Linked DNA regions of Homo sapiens: all the other regions are linked to region 1. Evidence: promoter capture Hi-C in 16 types of primary human blood cells and fetal thymus (Javierre and others, 2016). All regions are on one chromosome and are shown on one strand. Each heading gives the region's core, a stretch centred on a gene start or on the middle of the fragment in contact. The rest is flanking DNA. Distances are from core to core; before and after follow the strand shown.

Region 1 (4,194 bases), core at 1,116-3,615:
AGTGTCTGTGAATGAAGGTAAAATAGTATAAGATATTGCAGAGTCCAGCTGAAGAGGTTTGGAAGAAAGGCAAGGTGAGGGCTGGGGAGCCTTTCAACACATACTCCTATTTCTCTAAGCCTCTTAGGGAAATGGTTTGGATCTACCACTTTTCTCATACTCTTAACTATTTGACCCCTATAGCTTCTTCAAGCCTATTCTTTACCCTACCTCTCCAATATACTTTCTAATTTTTGCTTATCCTATTTGTGATACTTGATTTGATTCTAAAATGACTTACTATGTACAAGTAAATACTTTTTCTTATGACATTCATCACATGCCATGATGACTATTCTGTCTTTCAACCCAACTAGGCTGTAGGCTCCTCAAAGATATAAACTTAACCTTAAAAATATCTATATCCATAATATCTAGCACAGTTCTTGATGCATAGAAGTCCTTGAGACTCACCTGCCAGGGATAGGAACCCTTCTCCACTTGGCTTCCTCCAAGAATGCGACTGAAAATGTTAAAATAATTCCAAGGCTGTACCTTAACCAGACTCTGCCCACAACTGGGAGCTGAGAAAAAAACGAGACAAACTAAATGATTAGATAGCTTCTAGGATTGAGGTAATATCTTCTCCATTTCACCCATGAAACTGAGTCTGAGACTATGGTGTATGGTGCTCAGCACACATTCAGATATCAATAAATCTTTATTGGATTTAATTCTCTTGAGGGATGAAAAGTGACAGGTCATTTAAGGAGAGTGGAGTGAAGTGTCCTGATTCACAAGTTGGTACTCGGATAGAGGTTTGCTAGGTAATAGAAGAAAAAACTCCTCCCTCTTTATGTAAAATACTTTATCCCTGAAAAAGTTGTTTTTATTTATTTGCCCTCAATGGGTTTTCTGACTCCTCAGCAAAGAGGTAGACTAGATTAAAGATGTTTAACATCACCTGGTAACTCAAGGATGGCACATCTTCTGTCCCTCCTGGAGGTCATCCTTTTCCATATTTTGAAGGAGGATTAGAACTAGCCTTGCTTCATAATCACCATGCTTCATTGCCTACCTAAATTCTGTAATTCTTATTCCTCAGCTTGGAGATCACCTCAACCAGGAAGTCTTCCTTGATTTCCTCAAAGTGGGATTGCCTCTCCCTTGTGTTGTGTAGCACGCTTTCTTCACCCCTTTTATAGTTCTTGTCATGCAGAATTGTGATAATGAATTATTTGCCTCTATCATCGGACTATGAACTACTCAAGGGAAAAAACTTGCCTTATTCACCTCTGCATTTCTAAGGTTTAGCTTAATTCTTGGCATAAGTAAGCACTTAGAAACACTGGATGGACAAACAAATGACTTTTCTTGAGAACACATCCTTAAGAGTATAGCTATTTAGATCAACATGTTAAAATATTCAAAGCTCTTTCATACAGCTTCTCATTTAATCCCACTCTATGCCTATAAATGAAGCACTGTTATCCCCACATTGCAGATGAGAAAACTGAGAATCAAGGAGACACACAGCTGGATAATGGCAGAGCATGAATGTAACAGTAAGTGTTTTGATCCTGAACCCAGTGCCAGGATGACATTGGAACAAAAGCTTATTTTCTAACTGTTTCAGTTGAATGAGTCATAAATACTTTAAATACAAAATTTACTATTTCCCAAATTCAGTAAAGCAAAGTCAGAAAACATGTTGATTCTCAGGGTTGGCACAAGTCTGACCAAGGAGAAATCTTCCAAGAACTGTTTTCAGCTTAAGTTAGTTGAAGGGGAAAAAAGACCATTTATAATATACTACAGTGAACATGCTTCATATTTCTCAGCAAGATGATTTTGTAAAAGATTAAAAATGCTTCCAAATCCATGCTGATTTCCAGAATTTGCTCTATGAACCAAGATGGGATTATGTAATGGGTTCAAGTAAGTGAACAATCTCAGTTCACTTAGGAAAACTAAGCGAAGAAAACAGGGATTGTTTACTTAATTGGATACATTAGTTGCATTCTATAAATGTTTCACCCTGTGTCCTATGCCGATTGCAGGAGATAAGTCCAAAATAATTGTTTAAAAACAATTAGATATCCAAAATATATTTGCTTCTCCTATTTTCCCAAAGGAACATGGAGTCTCGGAGTTGTGACGTCCATTGCCAGCAAAGGTTCAGACAAAGGTAATTATAGAGTTCATTTGAAACTTACCTTTGGGGAGCGAAAGAGTTGCAGATTTACCTCGTTCAAAAAAGACTATTCCTAGTAGTAAAATCAGCTTGTTCCTGCTTATAAGCATTTTGAGACTCATAGTTTTTCCCTGAAATTTTAGAGAGACTAAAGCAAACAAAAATAGGAAGCCTTGAGAGACCAGCAATAAGCCAATTTAAAACAAGTTTATTCATTAACCAAGACGTGGTGAATCAAGCATGTCCATCTGATGTTTCTGAATGTAGTGTTTCGCAAAGATCTTTTGGAAGATGTGGAGAAACAACCACAGAAGCAGAGTCTTGATCAAGCAATATTACATATCCTATTACACCTACACCAATTAGTTGATTCCTCCAGAGTGTATCTGGCTAGCAAAGTGGTTAGCATGTAAGATTTGCATCTGCAAACATTACTTGCTCCTTTGTAGAGCTTACCACTTTTACCACTTTCTATAAGAAGATTGACTATCAATGTTGTCCTTGTTTGCAAGGGTACACTTCCCTACTTTTTTGCAAACGACCCATCCAAATGTATATAATTTTTTTGGGCAGAGATGGAGTTTCATCATGTTGCCCAGGCTGATCTCAAACTCCTGGGCTCAAGGGATCTGCCTGCCTTGCCCTCCCAAAGGTCTGGGATTACAAGTGTGAGCCACCACGCCCAGCCAATATTCTAAAATATTTTTATTTATCTTATTTTGCAAATGTAACTACATGGTTATTATAAACATATGTTGGTGAATGAGAGAAGTGGAAAGATATTTGGGTGTCACACTCAGGAAGCCCTGCTGTTAGAAAGTCATCTAGGATACTGTACATTGGGGCATTTGTGACTCTGCATTCTCCTATCATTTTTGTATTTATAGAAGGGAAACACTAAATCTCCTTTACTTCTATGCCTGGTAGATGCTTGGGAGAGTAAAGTGGCTATGATTACCTGTACATTTTCCTCTTTCCTCAACGAGTTTTGGGCACATGGTCAGTGTGTGAGAAATATTTATAGGATGGTCAATGCCATCTATGACCAGATAGAAATATAACATTTTTCTGTCAACTTTTATAAGTTACCCACTAAAAATAACAAATGTCAGCCCAAAAGCTCTTAATTTCCTTTTGGCAACTTTTGTCTTTGTACAAAAAAGTATGAAAATACAACACATACAAATAATATAAATGCAAAACAGAGAAGGTGTAAAAACTTAACATTTGTAAGCACTACATATTTAGGTACACTAATCAAGAATGTAGCCTTATGGAAAGAAGGAAACTCAAACCTCTATTGAGGCTTTATCTATAACTACTGTAATCCTGATGCCAAACATTTTTGGCTATTGGTATGGAGTGATAGCCCCAAGAGGTAATCAATCAATGTCTAAGCCCTAATCAAAGTCTCAATCTTTCTTTGACAGCAAGCTCCCTTTAAATTGCTATTGTGTTTTATCAATCACTTTTGAGAGCAACTTGACTAGGAATATGGCCTTTCTGACCCCAAATTCACTACATTCTGTCTAAAATGTGTATACTGTTAATGTCAAAAGTGCAGAAAGACCTAGTGTGGGCCTAGGATGCACTAAACTTGACAAGCCTAAAGTAGGCACATAGCATAGGACAATAAAATTTGACTCTATACTGAAAGAATGATGAGTTTTCCTTTGTAAAATGTGGGAGTGGAGCGTTTTTATTGATTGTCACACAGAAATATGATGAGCTCTTGCTTAGTGCTTAATTTCAGGAGAGGGTATTTGCTTCAAGCTCTTGCATCAGCACAACTATCAGTACACATCAACACACTCTTCACCACATGAAGCTGGTCATTAAGAGTTTGTTACTTTCATCTCTTAAGGGGCTAAAATGTGGCCCCCTTGCTGTTAAAATATTTGCTCTTCATGGGGGATGTAGCAGGTTCTAAGACACTATATTTTTGTAAGTCCAGCTATTCAACCCTCCCAGGGTCTGGATAGGAATTATAATAACTGTACATTGTAGTTACTTGCAGACAG
Region 2 (4,194 bases), core at 559-3,058, 690 kb before region 1:
AAATATGTACCTAAATAAATGGATCAATTCCCAGTGAAGTATAAAAAAAATAAAATGGCAAAATAGATGAAAGACTAATAAAAAATCATATAGACTAGTAAGTACTAAATTAAAATGGTAGCCATGCTCTTCCTCCCTCTCCCTAATCCCAAGGCTCTAAGAGTTTTATAGCTGAGTTCTAGCAAACATGTAATTAACTTAATTACTATTACAATACATAGTTTTCAAAAGTAGAGAGTGAAAATTGCCAACTTATTTTATGTAGCTAGTATAATCTTGGATTCCAAGACCAGATAAGAATGATACAAATAAAATTAAATTACAGGCACATTTGTAAATTTTGTAAATATACAAAAATCCTAAATAAAATATTAGCTAATTAAATTCAGTAATATATCAAATATATGCATCATGATCAGACAGTTTATTATAGGAATGCAAGGATCGTTCAACATGAGAAAAATCTATTAACACAATTCACTATATTAATAGACTATAGAATAAATCCATGATAATCTCAACTGATGCAGAAAAATCAAGTGCTATAAAGTTCAGGAAGTTCAACACCGATGTATTCTCTTAAAAACACTTGTAGCAAACTAGAGGAAAAAAATAAACTCCCTAAAGTGGCAAAGGTTAAATATCAAGAACTTTAAGCTTAATGGAGAAACTTCACATATATTCCCTTTACAATGGTAACAAGAATGACCACCGTCACTGCTGCTTTCAACACAGCACTAGAGATTCTGGCAAATACTATAAGAAAAAGAACTAAGAGCTACAAGAATTAGAAGCAAAAATATAAAATGTCATTATTTGCATAGTTATGGCCATCTACCTAGAAAAAGAGTATACAATAAACTATAAATTAAGAGAGTTCAGCAAAACTATCAGATACAATAAATAGTTTAATGACTCAGCAATCAACTACTAGAAAGTAAGATACCATTCACACCAGAAAAAAAACCCTATCTTAACCAAGAATACAAATAATTATTTGAAGAAAACTTTCACATTCCAATAAAGAAGAAAGATTATCTAAATAAAAGGAGAAGCATGCTTCCACGCTCTTGGATGCAGTAACTTAAATTCAATACATTCCAGTCAAATATTCAGATGGCTATTCTGAGGAACGCAATAGACTTCTGTTCCTTAAAATTGACAAGGAAGGAAATAAGTTGGTAAAGACAAGTAAACCAAACAGGAAGACTACCAGATACTGACATATCACCAAAACTACAGTAGTAAAATCAGAAGAGACAAATAGACCAGTAGAACAGAGCAGAGGGCTCAGAGACTAACCAATGTGCTTCTTTATCTACAAAAACATATTAACAATAGAGGTGGCATTAAAAATCAAAGACAGAGGTAAGGATTATTTACCAGATAGCATTATGAAAACTGATTAACTATATGAGATAAAATAAAACTGGATTCCAACTTAATACCATATACAATGGTTAAGTATATAGATCAAGTAAGTACTTAAATGTTAAGGGGAAAACTATAAAATTAATGAAAAAAGATGGAATTAATGAAAAAAAAGATGGAATTTGAAAACATTTACCACTGTTAAATGAATCCAAGAGCCAGTCCTTTGAGAGGAAAAATATTAATAACAAAGTAGATAAATCACAAGCTAGTTAATCAAAGGGGGGAAAAGGAGCACAAATAGAAAAAAATAAAAATAAGATTAGGGAAATAGCAACTACAACCTTTAAAAATAACTGGAACAAAAGTTTTCTCAAATTCTTTCAAATTTTCAAAGAACAGATTATTTGATGCTATGAAATTATCCCAAGGCATCAAAAACTGTTCAAGGCATCAGAAACGAAAAACTCTTCAAGACGTCAGAAATAAAGTGAAACATAAGGCCAGTAAAATCCAGCAGCACTTGAATTCATAATCTACTACCATATCACTAATTACTTCAACATTTAGTAGCTTAAAACAACAATAATTATTTACTATTTCTTATTTTTTTTTCTGGGTCACAAATTCAGGAGTGGCTTAGCTAGGCAGCTCTGGTTTGGATCTCACAAGATAAGTTGTTGGTTACATCTGCAGTCATCAAAAGGCTTGACTGAGAAGAAGGATTCAATTCCAGGGTGGCTAACTCCCATGGCTGGCAGGCTGGTCTAAATGTTGATGAGAGATCTGTTTTTTCTCCACGTGGTCCTTTCAAGTGGCGGGGGCTATCTGTCAGCATGGTGCAAGTTGCCCAAAAGAAAGTCAAGCAAAAGCTGCATTGTTTTTATGACTTAGCCTTGGAGGTCACATCCTATCACTTCTACTGTACTCCACTGATGAGGCAATCACAAGCCATGGCTGTATTTGAGAGGGGTGGGACACAGACCCCACCTTTCAGTGGAAACAATGTCAGTCACATCATAAGAAGAGCATGAAAACAGCATAAATTGTAAGTGTTGGGAAAAAGCTGAGTGTTGTGAAGGAAACTGAGGCAGGGTTTGCATAATGTCCTTTGGAATGTGTCTAGACTTGCTGGCTCCTTGCTTCTAGCCCTCCTAGGCTCCTATTCCCACTATCTAAAGTAGCAGAACATGTTCCATATAAATGCTAAACTATCGCAGCTGTAAATCATGTGCTTAATGCAACGTGTCCTTTTGACCTCCACATTCTCACCACCTGTTTCTCTGTTGGATTACCAATAAATAGCGTGGGCTCCCAGAGCTTGGGGCCTTCGCAGCCTCCGTACAATAGCGATGGCCCCCTGGTGTTCCCACCTCCTTTTCTCTCTCACTGTCTTTTTCTCAATCCTTTGACTCCGCCGGACTTTGTCACCCCCACGACCTGGTGTTGGGTCTGATCACCCCAACAATAAGTAAGGCCATCTTTGGAAAATTCAATCTGTTATAATACCAAAGCATATTATATCATGGTAAAGTGGTAGTTTATTCCAGAAAGAAAAGGAAGGTTCAAATTAGGAAAGCTATTAACTTTAAGCTTTTATAATAACATCAAATAAGAAAAGCCATATGATTATTGTAATGGATGCCAAAAAGTATACTTATTAAAATTCAACATGCATCCTTCATTTAAAACTACAGACAAAGCATGCAAAACAAAACAAAGCAGAAGACATACAAACATATCTTAAACCCAAAGATAAAGCATTAAAGTCATTCTCATTAAAACTGGAAACTTGACAAGGATACTGCAAGTCCACAACTTTTAAACTACTGTGAAACTACAGCATAATGCAATTAGACAAAATTATCTGTAGAGGATATGACTGCATATCTGAGAGATCCAAGAAAATCAGCTGAAAACTACTGGCAATGATAAGGGAATTCATGATCCCAGAAATTCTGTTACTAGAATTATAAACTAGACATTACACATGTATACCAAAAGATCTGTACAAGAACAGTTAGAGCATAATAAATGCTGTAACAGCAAAAAACTAAAGCAATCCAAAAAGTCCAACAACAAAACAGATAAGTTGTTCATACTATGAAATAGTACACAGCTGTGAAAATGAACAGCTACATGAATCAACATCGATGCACTGTAAAATTTAGCATTATGCAAAAGAAGCCATTCATGGAAGAATATATAGTGATTCAATTTTACAATGTTCAAAAATATGCAAAACTAAACAATTGTGTTTAGAAATGTACCTGTAGTTAAAAGCGCAGGAAAAAACAATTAAGGAATAACAACATTTAAGATAGTGGCTGCCCCTTTAGGAGAGGGGTGGGAAAGAAATTCTGGAGTCATCAGAGGGCTTTTACAAGTATATGCTGATTTAGGCTGGGCATGGTGGCTCACACCTATAATCCCAGCACTTTGGGAGGCTGAGGCAGGCAGGTCACTTGAGGCCAGGAGTTCGAGACCAGCCTGGCCAACATGGCGAAACCCTGTCTCTAACAAAAAAAAAAAAAAACAAAAAAAAAACACTACCCAGGAGGTGGAGGTTGCAGTGTGCTGAGATCACGCTACTGGACTCCAGGCTGGGAGAGAAAGCAGTCTGTCTTAAAAAGAAAAAACAGTGTATGCCGAGTTCAATGGTGAGTGTCCGTGTTATTATATTTTAAATTGTACGTATGTTTTCATATATTCTTTTGCTTATAGGAAATACATCATAATAAAGTTCAAATTACATAAAATCTAAGAGTATACAAAAAGAGTTCAGACATATAAATAATAATTAGAATTTTTTTTTTTTTTTTT
Region 3 (4,194 bases), core at 777-3,276, 680 kb before region 1:
TTTATGCTTGTGGTAGACAAGCGAAGTGACAAGTTCTTTCAATTTGGCAAAGAAATCCTACAAGCATTTTTACCTTTTTGCAACACAGAGATGTCATTTAAAGTATATTAACAGCAACAAATGAACAAGTACTACAATCACTCATATTTGCAGACCTTTTAGATATTAAAGATCACTTTCACGAGGCATTGCAATAACTTCAAAAGTCCAGGTTTCTTATAAGATCTCTCTGAAGAAATAACACTTCCAAATATAAGTTTATATATAAACGCCTCTATCCTCTTCCACACATTTACCACAGAAGATACAGTGTTCAATATAGGATCTTTGCGCTCAGCAAACCTGTGGGCACACGTCCTTCCAAAACAAAAATAGAACAAGATAATAACAGTATGAATATTTATACGGATATCTTTCATGGGACAGCAAAAATGTTCTATTTCATGGTTTTATGTGCATGTTAGAAACAATTTCAAAACCAAACCTAGAATTTATAGTTTCTCTTAAGATGCACATACTCGTGAATGTAATATTCAGCACATTATAGCAATTTAATATAGTATGTTGTAACCAAACTAAAAAGAGTTTACCTTTTCTCTCACCCTACACTTGGTTATCCTTTTGAGGTAGTTTTTGTATGAATCTTTATAATCTAAGCTTCTGATTTCTGGTTGTTATTGAGGTTGTTGGGCCCATCTTGCTAACTAGCATGCCTGAGTCCTTAGTATCAGTTGCCTAGAGTGTACATTTTCTTAATGCCAACGAATACTGGCTCCTCCTTTGCCAATAACGCTTAAAGTTCTCCATGAAGAGTCCAGCTGAAGAAATGCTGTCTTAAATAAGGATAAATCACCCAAATCTGGCTGCTATATGAATATGAAAACTTGTTCCAAATGGGTAATCCTTAGAAAAAGGAAGCCATCAGAACAGAGCATCCATTTACCCATGTGATCCAGAGGTTTCTCATCTGAGAGGCAATTCTCAATCCTGAAGCTACTGGATCTATTAGCTTCTAAGACTGTCTTCAGGGGCCAAGGCCATGAATTCATCTTAGAGCAGTTCTAGTCATGTAGGATTTGAATGAAATTGCACTATCCATAAATCAACACACAGCCTTGGTGACTACTGTGGTCGATTTGACTCAGCTGTTCCTTAAATATATCGAGTAGGCTCTTAACTGAGGGTCTCTGCACTTGCTATTTCTTCCTCCTGGAATGCTCCATCTCCCAGATATCTGCATTGTTCACACTTTCACATTCTGCAAATATCGCCTTAGCAGTGGCTTCTCTTGCTATTCAAAGAGAAATAGGACCCACCCCCACTTTTCACCCCCAGCGCTGTATTCCTTGCCCCACTCTGATTTTCTCCATAGCAATGATTACCACCTGGTATACTACAATTCATTATTTGTGCCCCTTCAACAGAATGTAAGCTCCATGGAGGTAAGGGCTAGATGAGCAAGACTTTGGATATTTTATTCACTGCTAGACAGGGTCCAGAAAACTGACAGGCACAAATAAGATGCTCAATAATCGTACGGATTTTAGATGGACGAATAAAGGGACACTGCTTATTGGGAGTCAGCCAGTCTGGGAAAGGTCCTTCAAAGCTGGGGTTCAATTCCCCGACTTCCTCTTTCCCACATCGGGAAAGCAAGGAGGAAGGACGTGCGCCCACAGGTTTGCTGAGCGCAGGGGATCCTATATTGAACACTGAATCTTCTGCGGTAAATGAGTGGAAGAGCAAGCATAGAGGCGGAGAGTGGGAGCAGAGCTCCCTTGGCCCCTCCAGCCAATGGGAAGAGAGATTCGCTAGGTCAGGCGGTGGGGTCCAACCACCCACGCTGGCCCGCAGCCCTCTTAGCGGGTTTGCTCTTCTCTCAGGGGAGGAGGAAGGTGAGGCATTAAGGGCCAGAGTGCGTTCCCCTTTCTGGTGGAACAGCAAATGCCTGTTGATCCTTTCCTGTCCTTCTGAGGCCTGGCTTTTGGCGCTTATACCCTTTGCCACCGACGCCTGGTGAGACCGAGGTATGGAATGACTCTCCTCTTCTCTGGATGCGTACTTTGTCCACTCTAAAATGGGAAGTTGGGTTCTGTGCGAGTCCATCCAGCGTCCACATTCTGTGTGGAAAATGAAAGGGATGTGGACTCAGGGCCCAAGAGGATGAGCTGCCAGGACACCCCAGGGTGGGACACTTCTGGGCATGGCGCCGGCCATGACCAGGGTGGAAAAGCGACCTTGAGGGTGCGAGTCCACGGTCACCTGCAAGTAGTCTTCGGCTGGAGACCTAGTGTGGCCTGTATCCATTTGTCAAATTCCAAAGAGATAAATGAATGCCTGCCAACTGTGCTTGAATTTGGCAGGCACTGCGTGCAGTGCCCGCTTCTTGAATCTCCTGGATTAAAGCGGTATGAATAGCCCCACTTTCACCAGCCTTGACGAATGGAGGCAAGCCCCTCGCCTCTCTAACCAGGAGCAGGTGTTCGTCCTTCAGTCTGAAGCTATTCCCGCCACCTGTGTTCTGCCGTCTTTCATTCACTCTGAGTCTTCCCCTAGCCCCTCTCCCTACTGAAAACGAAACAAACCGCCTGAAAACTGCTTTGCAGGTGCAACAGCTGCTCTCACTGGTGCTCCAGGTTATCAGTATCTGTCTCTCCACTTCTCCCTAGCAAAGTTCAAGAAATATTAGTAAGGTAGCACATGCTTGCTCCCGGCGTTGGTCATCCTCTCTAGCCTATAGTGCTTTAGTGCTTTAGCACCCCCACTCCCTCTACTCCAGCAGTGACCCAAAATTGCTCTCTCTATGCAAGTTAGCAATTATTGCCAACACGCCAAATTCAAGTACAGATGGCAGGCATTCATTTCTTTAACTTTTTGGAATTTGGCAAATGGATATTGCCTTTTTACCTTTTTATTTCTCCACTTATTTAAGGAATGTATTCTAATGAGAGATAATTGTCAAAAATTGTCCTAAACTCAGTTGTGTTTTGAGTTAGGACAATTTGTGGTAATTATTTTAAGTACATTTTGGTTTTTTTTATGTAGAGGTTTTGTTTTCTTTGCTTAGTTGTAATCTTCATATACCTGCCAACTGTTTTGCTGTATGACGAGGTCATTTTCATGACTAAAAATCAAGTGTGTGCTATATTTTTATACATTCATTATAATTGAATCCTTATTGACAATTATTTACTATTCTAAACAAACACCCTTATGCACAAAACTTTCTTTTCTGTATTTAGGATTTTTTTTTCAGTGGATGATTTCCCAAAGAAGATACTGTTTGAAAACTCATGCATGTTTGTAAAATTCTCAGTAGACATGCAGACATGCAGTTTTTCAAGAGTGTAGCAATTAACATTTATATTAACTCCTTTTATATGGTACTGCTTTTTAAAGCTTATTTTTGTCATTTTGTTCTTTGAGAAGGGCTGTTTCCTGGTTTGCATTAGTTGTGCTATCTGCCTAAGTTTGAAAATTTTCTGAAATACTTGTTAGCCATTTGCTTTTTGCTTTTTTTCCCCTTCTATGAATAGGCTATTCACAATAAATTTGCTTTATTGCTATTCTGATCTATTTGTATCATGTCATTTTAGGGATATGAACATTTTCAAGACAATATTTTAGTGTGAACTGTAACTCATAAAAGACTGCACTGAGCATAAACATGCAGCTTGGTAAATGATTACCAAGTGTTCACTCATGTAAAACATCAGCAGGTCAAGGAATAGGACATTCGTTACCAGGACATAAGGCCCCCTTCATCCCCCTCCACCTCATCTCCACAGAGGTATTAGGAAATGGACTTTTATAATAGCTACTTCATAATCTTGTTTGATTTGGCTTCTTCCACTAGTTATGAGATTTATTCTAGTGGCATATAGCTTCAATCATATGTTTTCTTTGCTGTTTAGGATTTCATTGTACGAATTTACCACAATGTATTGATTGGTTCTACTATAGATGAACTCTTGGATCTTTTCAAGTGCTTAGGAATTACAAGCAGTGCTGCTGTAGTTATTGTATATCTCCTGGTATACCTACACACATATTTCTATTGGATATTTTCTAAGAACTTTAATTGCTCTGTCATAGTGTATGTATATTTCCAGTTTTAAGGAATAACCATTTTAGAATAGTATTTTTTAGAATTACAGAAATTTCTTGTCACCCAATTTCCCCAATTTTTAATAT
Region 4 (4,194 bases), core at 446-2,945, 660 kb before region 1:
ATTTTGTGTGTGTTGAAGGGAGTGGATGGGAAACGGGAGAGCTATTGGACAAATAAGACCTCTGGAGTGCCCAGAGGAAGACTTCCTGGTGGACTGTGCCCACGGTGGAGCTGCACTGGATGCTCTTGCCTTTCCAAAGTACACTTACTTTTACTCCAATACTATCCTCTGAGAGTTGGCTAGGCTGAAATAAAATCAGCATTGTTTTTCTTTTCTCAATTATTTATGCAAAGGGATGGTGATCGCATTACTCACTGTTGGCAAGATCTCTGTTCTGTGCTTCATACAAATGAACACTTGAGAGAATTGGACCTGTACCATAGCAACCTTGATAAATCAGCAATGAATATCCTGCATCATGAACTAAGGCACCCAAACTGTAAACTACAAAAGCTACTGTAAGTCTGGTATGAGAAAATTTAATGGAGTTATTCTAATTTCTTTCTGTGTCCCATCTTCCACTCATACTCGTTAGGGGAAGCCAATGCTAAACAAATACTTACAATCCATTTTGTAAAATAAACAGGAACAATGGAATCCTCTGGGGACATGGGATCATTACTAACTGGTTCTCAGAGTGATTCCACAGGGCATAGTAGCTGTTCACATGGGTTTTTCAGGCTTGATTAGGAACTTTCTAAATGAAGAGCACAGAGCTAAAACATTCTAGGCAGGTCACCAATGCACTTTCAAGGACATGTTCTGGAACTTACTATCCTCTTAAATTTTTTTCTATTGAGGAAAAATTTGCATTTAACAAAGTCCACAAATAATGTTCAGTTTGTTGTGTTCTGACAAGTGTAAACATCTTTATAACCAACACACCCAAAACAAGATAGAAAATATTTTCATTTATCTCAGAAAGGTCCCTTGTACCCCTTTCGTTTTTTTTTTTCCTGAGACAGGGTCTTACTCTGTTGTCCAGGCTGGAATGCAGTGATGCTATCGCAGCTAGAACTCCTGGGCTCAAGCAATCCTGCCACCTCAGCCTCCCAAGTAGCTGGGATTACAGGCATGTACCACCATGCCAGGCTATTTTTTTTTAATTTTTTGTAGAGATGTGGTCTCACTGTGTTGCCCAGGCTGGTCTGAAACTTCTGGGCTGAGGAGATCCTCCTGCCTCAGCCTCGTAAAGTGCTGGGATTACAGGCATGAGCCACAATGTCCAGCCTATCCCTTTCTGTTCAATCTTCTCACCCCATCCATTCCCAGAGACAATCATTTTCTAATCTCTGTCACCAGAGTTCAGCTTTGTATCTTTTTGGAATCATTTTGATTGATTTATACAGTATGTATTTTTTTTAATTTATCTTCTTTCTCTTTCTTTTCTTTTCTTTTTTTTTTTTGAGACAGTCTTGCTCTGTCACCAGGCTGGAGTGTAGTGGCACAATCTCGGCTCACTGCAACCTCCGCCTCCCAGGTTCAAGCCATTCTCCTGCCTCAGCCTCCCGAGTAGGTGGGACTACAGGCACGCAGCACCACACCTGGCTAATTTTTGTATTTTTAGTAGAGACAGGGTTTCACCATGTTGGCCAAGCTGGTCTCAAACTCCTGACCTCAAGTGATCTACCCATCTTGGCCTCCCAAAGTGCTGGGATTACAGGCATGAGCCACCACACCTGGCTATATCCATCTTCTTGTGCTCAACAAAATGTCTTCTAAAATTTATCCATTTTGTTGCAACTTTTAGTAGTTTCTTTTTTATTGCTGATTAGTATTCCATTGTATAACTATACTTATACTATAATTTGTTTATTCATTCTCTTGTTAATAGACCCCTGGAGGTTTCCCTAACCTGTTAGGAATAAGGGTAATCTTTGCCAACATTAGATGCTGTCAGTCTTTTTTAAATTTTAATTTATCTTAATTGGATTCTAGATAATCACTTTAAAATGTTGATTGTTCACATGTCTCTTACCTTTTTGTGTAAGGACTCCACTAGGAGCTGAAACTGATCCTAATCTCTGTATTTTGTGCCTGTCAATATGTACAAGGTACATTTGTTGCTTAGTATGAACTGAATGCTGAACAAATGATAGATCTTTGTTTCCATTAGCACTGAAAATAGATGTTCTTTTGGGTGGGGGCTGGGGACAGGCTTCTCACCAAATATTTTCCTCCTGATCTCAGTGTTTTTAGTGAGTTCTGACCTTAGATTTCAAGCATCTAGAGTAGGCTTGGTCTTACATATAGATGTAGTAAGACAACTAGATGTATGTTATGATTACGGGGTTCCTGGAAGTCCTTTCCACTCATCCCTAAACATTTCCCCCATATTGTCCCTTCATTGGATGTCATCAATCCGGATCTTCACAATAGCCAATGCCTTCTTGGTTAACTGACTTCCTTTCTTAGAATGGGAGGGTTGCATCAGTGGGATGACACCATGATGACTGTTCTCAGTCTGTGCCACCTTAATGTGGTCTGTCTTACTGTGGTCCCTTTTTCCTAATAAGTGAGATGGTGCCATTTATGTTTACTGAGTGCCTTAGGCACTTTTACTAGATGAGGATGGTTAGTGCTATAAATGGGTAAAGGCTTTATTTTCCTGTGTGTACTTGCCTGGGGTGAGGGGAGTGAGGGTGGAGGGTGGGTGGTGGGCCGAAAGGAGGAAAGGTGGTGTTACAAAGCGAGGTTTTGGACAGTGAACAGAAGGGCATTGGGGACTAGCAGAGACACTATAGAAGAATCAGAAATATCTGACATTGACTGAGTTAGGAGGTAGAAAGTAGGAAAAAAATTGGCAGATTTAACTTCATAATATTTTGCTTGGGCTGCCTCCGTACACCTGCCTCCGTATGCCTAACGAAGTCCCCAAGATGGCACAGCATGTTTTGCAACAGCGTTTTGTTATTACTGCACATCAGACAGTTGATGCTAATTTTGAATTAACCTTGGATTATTTAAAGATTTGGCTATTGTGAATTAATGTTATTGTAGTACTTGGAATGGCCCTGATAATTTTTGATAGTCATTCCTGGGATTACAAGTTAAAGAGGCTCCTCTTCTGCTTTTCATGATGTTATCACCTTCTTTTCCGTTAAGGTAAAAAAAACTGGGGAGTGTCAATTATCAGGTCATAAATAGAAATTGAAGTTATAACCCAATTGTTTTAGATGAAAATAAGATAAAAGAATATTCATGTAATATCCAAGAATTAGATTGAAAAGAAAGGGATCCTGTAACCAAGGAGAGAAATGGTTTTGTAATACCTCCTGCATATTTTTCTTCTGAAGGTTGAAATTTATCACTTTCCCTGATGGTTGTCAGGATATCTCTACTTCTTTGATTCATAACAAGAATCTGATGCATCTTGACCTAAAAGGGAGTGATATAGGGGATAATGGAGTAAAGTCATTGTGTGAGGCCTTGAAACACCCAGAGTGTAAACTACAGACTCTCAGGTAAGCTTTGAATTGTTTTGTCTTGTTTTGTTTTTATAATTGAGGCTTTTGTCTATCCAAGTAGACTCTTACAGCCTGGATTTGCTATTCATAGGACCGGCTTAAATCTACTTTCATGATATGGGGTAGCAAGCATCTGTAGAATCAAGCTGATTTCATCCTGGTAGGACTTCTCATTCCTCCCATCTCCCCAGGAAGATTTCTCATTGTGTAGTTCTCTGTGTCTCCATCTCCTAAATCTGCTGGTGGTGGGAATAAGAGCAGATTCAGAATTATAAATATTTAACACTTCTAATATTTAAGTGCTGCAATAGATTCGTTGTATCTTTGAACTCTCGTAGAAAATAATACAGTGGGGGATGTTCTTTAATGTAACTGGGGGCAGTGCTGGGGCAGACTCACTATTATTTGATTTTTGTTGGTGACTCCCCCTCAATTTAGAACTTCAACTCAGTGACCAGCCCAGAAGGCTGAGAAAGAAGAGCATGGAAATGGTCCTCTTTCAAGGTGCTTGCTGGCTACCACACACTATTGATCTGAGTGGTGACTCTTCTTTGGCCGATGAAAGTGAAAGGATTAGCAGTCATACTGTTCTCCACATTGTGTGACAGGTTTTAAGAAAGATCTTATTTTTCAATGAAAGTCAATGAAATAGGTTTCTGACAAAACCAGACAAAACAAATAGTTACAGTAAGTTTTGCATTAGAAGTTTTTATAAGCCCTGGACTCAGTTCAGGGTGGCCAAGACTGAAGCTTGATGCATGAAGGGCCAAAGTAGATCTGTATTTGT
Region 5 (4,194 bases), core at 469-2,968, 640 kb before region 1:
GCAAATGGTACCTGGTTTGGGTCTTCATGTTCTGTCATCCTTCAGATAGTCTACTTGTCTTTGAATTAATTTTTTTATTAAATTGAAGACTTTTACTAATTATCTTCTATCTGTAAAATACTATGTTCTTAAGGAGCTTGTAATAAAATCACATTCTGTGTTGTGGACATTTCTTACGTTCAATTCTGTGTTTAGATTTTTATTTAATTTTGAACTGATATTGGCTAGTACATTTTCACTTATACAACATGAATTATTGACCTCAGGGTCAAGAATTGTGCTCTATGTGTGGGAAGCTCAGACATAATGACATGTGTCATCCTTTAGAAATTTAACAGTCTTCCAGAGAAATCTCCCCTGACTCTTCCAAGAAAATGAAGCTGTTATATTTCCATTGACTATATATTTTTATAATAGCAATGATGATGATGTAACTGTTAGGTCTGAGATTTAATTTTATCCTACTTACAACCTAATAAATTCACCGGTTACTGTTTCATGGATGCTGGACAAAAAACAAAACCAAACCCACAAGACTCTTAGGAGAGACAAAGGACTTTATTGCTTGTAGCAGAGCAAGAGCATGAGTATTAGCATGTTTGCGTCAGTTCCTTTTGTCCCCCGAGTCTCACAGGGCTGATGAAGAGGGTCCAGATGGATGCCTGCACATGCAACATTGAGACTGAGAGACCTAGGATTTTACAGGAGGCAGTAATAAGCCTGCTGTTTGTCCCTCAAGGTTGCTCATTACAAACACAATCCTGGAAAATGGCCCAGGTAAAGCGCTGTCAGGGCCTTGCATTTTTGTTAGCAAACATGTAGCAGAGAGAAAGACCTATGGAAGAATATCTCCCCAAAATATCTACCCCTTGTTTCTACACAGTAAAATCTTGGCTTCTGGTGAATTTTCACATAAATATGCTACTCCATTGGCCACTCTGATTAACAGAGACTGGGACCAAATCTGTTCAGTTAATCTCATCTACCATTTAATTAAGGCCACTAATAACAAAACTCCAAGCATGTGATGAGCCCAACTTGTAGTATTGATTTCAAACATTCCCACAGGGGTCTGACTCAGTCAACTGAGTAAGTCCCAGGAAGGACTACTAGGTCTTTTATGCTTTAGAACCCATACAAGGGAGTCTAAAATGAGCTGCCATTCTTTGGTGTCACTGGCAATAAATAAACAAAGATGGGCCAAAAGCAGCCCTCCTCCCCAGTAAAGAGACAGTTAGCAGTCCACTCTTCCCCACATGCAAACATGTAACTGAAAGGGGTAGAGGTCACTCTAATTTTGGATTTGCTGTTATATTTTATTTGGTTAGCCATTGCACTAGTTTGGTTAAGCCAGGTAAGCAGTCTCACTGGTAGTTGTAGCTTCCTCATTCTCATACGTGGTATAGTCCAAGGCTGTTCTAGCATCAAGAGAAGCTTGCAGATTTGTATCGAATTGAAACAAGGTTGTGCTAGTGATTGTGTTTGTATACATATGATAAGATTCCACATTAGGAGGTTGCTATTGATGGCATCAGGCACAGCAAAGTAGTTCAGGACCTGCTATGTCTACATGAGATTTTCTATTTTCATAGTATATAGACAGGCATGACAAACCAGGCCGAGGGTCAGTCTGTCAGCTGCAGTTGCTGCTTAGACTCCACAGACCACATAATTATTTTGCCAGGCCAAGGTGTTGGATCTAGGAGAAAAAAGAGAGAGTGAATTGTTCTCCTCACTCTCCACACCTCCAGGTTCTAAAGTGTTCCATTCCAAATATTGTTGCTGCTCTTCCCCTACACCAATGAAATCAGTTTGTGCCATCCCAGTGGCTAGAACTTCACCTATTCTCCAATTATCCTTTACTTGCATGGAGACCTTTGGTCTGGAGGAATCATACAAATGGGAGAGAGAGAAAAGCATCTTTACAATATTTACAGAAACCCATTATATCTTATACATTATATACCAATTCTATATTATCTGAATATCAAAGGCAAATTAGGAAGCTTTGGAGCCTCTAATCTACCTTTTAAAAATATATGTAGCTGTAAAGTTCAATTTTATAATTTTCCTATATACTCTTTTTTTTTCCAGCAAAAAGTATTGAAATTTTTATCCCCTCTGCTTGGTAGGGACATCTTTGTTATAAACCACATTTTCATTGGTGCGTGGATCTGTTCCTGGGTTCTGTTTTCCTTTCCACTGACCTGTTTGTAATTCCCAGTTCTAACAATGCTGTCTTAATTAATATAGCTCTATGATAAGCCCTGATACGCACTACAGCAATTCTTCCCATCTTCTTAAAGAGAATTTTGGCTCTCCTTCCCCTTTACATTTGCAAATAAATTGGAAATATCAACTTATCAAGTTACATACATATGTACTGCCCCCCAACCTACCTATATGTTGGCGTATTGAATCGAATTGCATTAAATCTATCAGTGAGTCTCCTGATACACCAAAAAGACATATCTCATTTATTTAGGTCTATCAATAAAGCTTAGTAATTTTTTCTTGAGTGGTCTTGTATTTTGTTACTGGTTAACTTTATTCCAAAGTGCTTACTATATTTCATGCTGTTGTAAATGATTGTTTTAGTTATTTTTTCATTGTGTTTATACATAGAAACATAGGAGTTTTTAAAGTTGGTTTCTTATCCAATAGCCTGCCACATTCTCTTGCTTATTCTAGTTGCTAATTTGTAGATACTTTTGTATTTTTTAGGTATACAATCACATCATTTGGGAATAATACAATGTAGTTGTTTTTTCCTTTTCTGTTCTTATATTCTTTTTTCATTTTTTATATGCCTTAGTAACTGTTAATATATGTGATATAATGTTAATATGTCTGGGGATAATGAACTTTCATATGTTGTTCACAATGTTTGAAGCACAACTTCAGTGGTTCACCAATTTATCAATTTAAGGAAATTGCCTTCTACACCTAGTTTTCTAGGAGTATTCTTTTTCTTTTTTTTAATTATACTTTAAGTTCTGGGATACATGTGCAGAATGTGCAGGTTTGTTACATAGGTATACACGTGCCACGGTGGTTTGCTGCACCCATCAACCCATCATCTATATTAAGTTTTTCTCCTAATGCTATCCCTCTGCTAGCCCCCATCCCCCAACAGGCCCTGGTATGTGATGTTCCCCTCTGTGTGTCCATGTGTTCTCATTGTTCAACTCCCACTTACAAGTGAGAATATGGGATGTTGGATTTTCTGTTCTTGTGTTAGTTTGCTGAGAATGATGGTTTCCAGCTTCATCCATGTCCCTGCAAAGGACATGAACTCATCCTTTTTTATGGCTGCATAGTATTCCATGGTGTATATGTGCCACATTTTCTTTATCCAGTCTATCATTGATTGGCATTTGGGTTGGTTCTAAGCTTTTGATATTGCAAATGGTGCTGCAATAAACATACATGTGCATGTGTCTTTATAGTAGAATGATTTCTTATCCTTTGGGTGTATACCCAGTAATGTGATTGCTGGATCAAATGTTATTTCTGATTCTAGATCCTTGAGGTATCGCCACACTGTCTTCCACAATGGTTGAACAAATTTACACTCTCACCAACAGTGTAAAAGTGTTCCTGTTTCTCCACATCCTCTCCAGCATCTGTTGTTTCTTGACTTTTTAATGATCACCATTCTAACTGGCATGAGATGGTATCTCACTGTGGTTTTGATTTGCATTTCTCTAATGGCCAGTGATGATGAGCTTTTTTTCATATGTTTGTTGGCCACATAAATGTCTTCTTTTGAGAAGTGTCTGTTCATATCCTTTGCCCACTTTTTGATGGGGTTGTTTTTTTCTTGTCAATTTGTTTAAATTCAGATTCTGAATATTTGTCAGATGGATAGATTGCAAACTTTCTCCCATTATGCAGGTTGCCTGTTCACTCTGATGACAGTTTCTTTTGCTGTACAGAAGCTCTTTAGTTTAATTAGATCCCATTTGTCAATTTTGGGTTTTGTTGCCATTGCTTTTGGTGTTTTAGTCATGAAGTCTTTGTCCATGCGTATGTCCTGAATGGTATTGCCTAGGTTTTCTTGCAGGGTTTTGATGGTTTTAGGTCTTATGTTTAAGTCTTTAATCCATCTTGAATTAATTTTGTGTAAGGAAGGTATAATGCGTAAGGAAGGGGTCCAGTTTCAGTTTTCTGCATATGGCTAGCCAGTTTTCC
Region 6 (4,194 bases), core at 1,070-3,569, 590 kb before region 1:
CAAAGATCAGTCAGATGTAGGCTGTGCTGTAAAAATGCTCATGCTCACCATGCTGAAAACTGCTGGTAATTTGCATTAGGTCCAAAAAGAATGTTGTATTATACTTTGCCCAAAATAGAATAATTGCAGGATCTGGAGTCAGACTGCCAAAGTTCAAATCAGCTGTGCAACTTAATAGTGGTGTGACCTTGGATCAATTTCTTACATTTTCTGTTTCTCTGTTCTCTTATCTGTACAGTTGCAGTAAAAAAAATAGTGCAGACATAGATTGTTGTGAAGATTTAATGCAATACTACTTGTACAAGGGAGGCGAATTGCCTCTGGATTCTCACATTATATAGAAATTTGGGGATTTAATTCTTGTAATTATCTTTGAAATAGATTTTATTATGTCTGGCGATTAAAAAAAACAAAGGTTTTTTTAAAGAGTGAATAACATTTTTAAAAATTCATAGACAATACCAGAGCCAAAACTGAATCCTTATTCAATTTTTACATTGCAAACAGGGTTATAGAATTTTCTGAGAGAGTCACATTTTCAGATATTCTGTGTCATTATACCACAGTGTCCCAATTTTGGGTCTGTAAACCATAATCTCTATAATCCTCACTGCCTCTTATGAATTTGGAGTCTGAAATGCCTGGCATTTTCAAGCCCCAAGCCCCAAAAAGCAATCAGAGAAGGAGAAAGGAGCAACTCCTGTTTCAGGGAAAATTAAGAGATTTTGGAAGACCATGTTCTTCTTGTTTCTTCCCTTCAACCCACAAGCCTGGTCTTGCACAGTGATGCCACTTGGTATGATTTAAGGAAAATCTCCCTGCATCAGCCTACTTTCCTGAGAGGTTCATTGAACAAACACCCAGAAAGGCATAAAATGGCTATTAGGAACTAACACACTAGTGTGGCTTCATTTAATCAGCTTGCTTTCCTAATGCAAAGTAAAGTCCAACGGAAAGAGCAGTAGGAATTGTGTCGAGTTAAGGCACAGGATAAGAATGAAGTGAGGAAGATAACAACATTATTGAATGCCAGAATAAAAGCTACAGATGCATAGTGGATCAGCAGAAAGGAGTAGAGGGCATAGTAACGTTGAAAGAGGCATCAATGGGGAAATAAAAGGGCAGAGATTGAGAGACCATATATAAGAATGTATGTTATAAACAGGTGGAGATGTGAGAAAAATCCTTTCTACTCGAAGTGTGGTCCTCAGATCAGCAGTGATGTATCAGCTGGAGCTTGTTAGAAATGCAGGATCTCAGACTCCACCTATAATTAAAATGCATTTAACAAGATCCCCACTTGATTTCAGTGCACATTAAACTTTGAGGAGGGTGCATCAAAGGTACACACATGGATGATGAGAAAACCTTGCAGATGGGTGGTGGAGGGAGCAGCTTGATGGATGAGATGAAGACATATATATATATATATATATATATACACAAAAATGTGCCAGGAGGAAGGTGGTCATGGAGTAGTTTGTGGGTAGTTTAGCTGATTATGAATTATATATTAGTTTCCACTCATGCTTTCAGAGCCTCAATGGTATGAGACAAAGCATGAGAGTGTTAAGGAATGGAGTGGGAGATTCCTAAAAGATTCTGATGTTATTAGGAATTGGTTTTAATTTTAGGCTTTTGTCACTGAATGTACATTTTTCTTCCCTTTTGTTTGTTTGGCTATTTTTAATTGAGAAAGCTGTATTGTGGGGAGCTATTCAAAAGTGACTTAAAGCAAGAAGTCACTCCCATAAGCTTGGCTTCTGAACATTCTTGCTTCTTCCTCTCATTCTTCAATCATTTTCTCATAGGCTGTTTTGCAAGTCTTCAAGTCTTCTAGGCATCCCTTGGATGTTTTTGTTTTCAGGATCTGTTCTCGGCTGTCTCTTCTCTTTTCACAGAACAAAATTCTCTAGGTTGTATAATCGATTATTGCAGTTTCCACTACCACTAATACACTAGTGACTTTCAGAGTTTTATCTTCAGTCTTGTTCAATTGGGAGCGTCAGACCTACTGCTCAGTTCATATATCTTACTGGATATACAACAGGCAACTCACATGGTTATGGACTGAATGTCTGTGTCCTTCCGAAATTCATACATTGAAAAATCCCAACCCCCAGTGCAGTGGTACTGGGGGAGGGTCTTTGGGAGGTAATTAGGTCATGAGGGTGAGGCCCTCAAGAGTGGGATTAGTACCCTCATTAGAAGATACACAAGGGAGGTGATACCTATTTCTGCTATTTGAGGATATAATTAGAAGATGGGCATTTGTAAACCTGGAACAGGGCCTTCACCAGAACCCAACTATACTGGCACTCTGATCTTAGACTTCCAGTCTCCAGAACTGTGAGAAATGAATGTTTATTCTTCAAGCCACCTAGTCGATGGTAATTTGTTATAGCAGCCTGAGCTGGCTAAGAGAGAGACTCAAGAAGTCACAAGCTGAATTCATCATCTTCTTTCTAAAACACCCTCTCTATACTCTACCAGTGAATGTTACTACCATGATCTCAGTCTCCTATGCAGGGATCATAGATGTCCCTGTATGTTTCAAGTTTTTCCACGTTCTCCATCTCTAATTATCATTAAAACATATTGATTCTATCTCCTTAACACTTCTGCATCCACCTTCTTATTTCCATTCACATGGCTATTGCCTTGGTTCAGTGCCTTCTAGATCCCTTCCCTGATATATCACAGCAGTCTTTTAACTATTTGCCACCTTCAGTGTAGCCCCATTTCAATTTTAATCTCAATGCTTCAGACAAAGTGGCATTTTAAAAACTCACATTTAGAACTAAAATATCTCTCATGTTAAAACTAGACAATAGCTCCCCATTAACTATTGAATAACTTTTAAACATTTTTGTAAATAATGTATAAAGCTTGTATCCTGCATATTGTACAGCTTTATCTCTCATTGCAGTTCTCTCTGCAGGTTTTGTCTTCTGCTTAAAATTTTCTGAATAGAAAAATCTGTTTCATACCTCCATATCTTTGTTCGTGCTGTGCACTCTACCTGTACCTTCTCTGTCTCTTCTCTTTGCCAGATATAATTTTAAGGGCTGAACAGTGATTAGCTTATACATAAAGTCTTTCCTAACCACCCCCTCCATCTTTTGTATGTACACTGAACCTTATGCAGCCTTGGATTATCACTCACATGTTCCACCAACACGGCAGTTCTAAGGCCCTGGTCTGTTTACATTATTGTTCTTACTCTTCTGATGCTTAATTGCAAAAATGTCTATTCCTGCGAGACTGCAAGGCCTGGGTGGAGGAGGCATTTAGGGCCTAGGAGACAGCATTGGCTAATGGATCCTGTGGGGCTGGAGCTAAAAAGGCATTGTTTATAAATAAAGGAAATGGCCAAAAGTAACGGGAGCCAAGTTTCTCACTGTAAGAGAAAGGATATTCAATAATTTAAAGGGTGAAAATTAGAACAGAATGGTGTTCCATCAGAATTGGAGATACCAGTATGATGAACTCTTGAGAGAGATATATATTTATATTATACACACACACAAACACACACACACACGAGAGAGAGAGTGAAAGAAAGGAAAAGGACATAGCCCTGTATGTGCATGTGTAGATAGATACATGTGTGTGTGTGTACATTTTCTATATTTTCTAGCTTTTTCTGCTGAGACAGCCTAAAAGCAATGGAGCCCCAGCAGCAAAGAACACACATAGTGTCCAGATCTGGACTTATATATGTATGTTTCTCCAATAAGAGAAACAAAGACTTTTTAGAGAAATGTTTAATTCCAGGGCTGGGGCAAGGAAAGTACAAGATGAGCCCAAAATATCTTGATTTGTCATAAAACAAGAGAATGATTAAAAACAATGTGGACTTATCAAAATGACACAGTAAGCAGCCAGAAGGACCACTGGGAGAGTTTCAGCATCAAAATAAATAAAGATAGTAATGAATTATAACCTATTGATTAAAATAAGGATCAGTGAGTCCATAGTGAGATAAATGATTAAAGAAATATGGGAGAAGCAAAAGCTCTTTCTTACAGTACAGAATCAACTAGTAAATGTAGAAGGAATGATAGAAAGTTAGGAAGTCATTATTAGCAAACATCATAGTAATTATTTAGGCATGAATCATCAATAGAGTATAAAACTAGTGGGTAAAAGTTTGATGAGGAATAAGATATTAATGTAATATCAAAGGATCTC

Evidence for each region. The method cuts DNA at HindIII sites, captures the fragments that hold promoters and counts their contacts. A CHiCAGO score of 5 or more calls a contact.
Region 2: a fragment that was not itself captured here is called in contact with the fragment with the promoter of OVCH2 in region 1 in 1 of 17 cell types (M2 macrophages); the score reaches 6.4 in M2 macrophages.
Region 3: a fragment that was not itself captured here is called in contact with the fragment with the promoter of OVCH2 in region 1 in 3 of 17 cell types (M2 macrophages, naive B cells and M1 macrophages); the score reaches 5.6 in M2 macrophages.
Region 4: a fragment that was not itself captured here is called in contact with the fragment with the promoter of OVCH2 in region 1 in 4 of 17 cell types (M2 macrophages, total B cells, total CD4 T cells and 1 more); the score reaches 6.8 in M2 macrophages.
Region 5: a fragment that was not itself captured here is called in contact with the fragment with the promoter of OVCH2 in region 1 in 4 of 17 cell types (naive B cells, endothelial precursors, M2 macrophages and 1 more); the score reaches 6.5 in naive B cells.
Region 6: a fragment that was not itself captured here is called in contact with the fragment with the promoter of OVCH2 in region 1 in 13 of 17 cell types (M2 macrophages, naive B cells, total B cells and 10 more); the score reaches 11.6 in M2 macrophages.

Annotation. Positions count from the first base shown.
Region 1 is chr11:7,704,112-7,708,305 of GRCh38, forward strand. OVCH2 (ovochymase 2) reads right to left here and starts at 2,366. Exons shown (of 16, transcript NM_198185.7): 1 at 2,196-2,366; 2 at 454-563. The coding sequence starts at 2,283. LOC105376533 (a long non-coding RNA gene) reads left to right here. Exons shown (of 11, transcript XR_007062576.1): 7 at 1,484-1,544; 8 at 2,114-2,167. The HindIII fragment of the contact is 6,680 bases long and covers 1,593-4,194 here.
Region 2 is chr11:7,010,913-7,015,106 of GRCh38, forward strand. The region is part of intron 1 of ZNF214 (zinc finger protein 214); the gene reads right to left. Among named protein-coding and RNA genes, the nearest start is that of ZNF214, 7.3 kb to the right of the region's middle. The HindIII fragment of the contact is 2,307 bases long and covers 656-2,962 here.
Region 3 is chr11:7,029,199-7,033,392 of GRCh38, forward strand. The region is part of intron 1 of NLRP14 (NLR family pyrin domain containing 14); the gene reads left to right. Among named protein-coding and RNA genes, the nearest start is that of NLRP14, 11 kb to the left of the region's middle. The HindIII fragment of the contact is 2,742 bases long and covers 656-3,397 here.
Region 4 is chr11:7,046,435-7,050,628 of GRCh38, forward strand. It overlaps NLRP14 (NLR family pyrin domain containing 14), which reads left to right. Exons shown (of 12, transcript NM_176822.4): 5 at 234-398; 6 at 3,237-3,404. Among named protein-coding and RNA genes, the nearest start is that of NLRP14, 28 kb to the left of the region's middle. The HindIII fragment of the contact is 3,423 bases long and covers 1-3,407 here.
Region 5 is chr11:7,062,742-7,066,935 of GRCh38, forward strand. All of the region lies in intron 10 of NLRP14 (NLR family pyrin domain containing 14), which reads left to right. Among named protein-coding and RNA genes, the nearest start is that of RBMXL2, 24 kb to the right of the region's middle. The HindIII fragment of the contact is 572 bases long and covers 1,433-2,004 here.
Region 6 is chr11:7,117,045-7,121,238 of GRCh38, forward strand. No RefSeq gene overlaps it. Among named protein-coding and RNA genes, the nearest start is that of RBMXL2, 30 kb to the left of the region's middle. The HindIII fragment of the contact is 1,133 bases long and covers 1,754-2,886 here.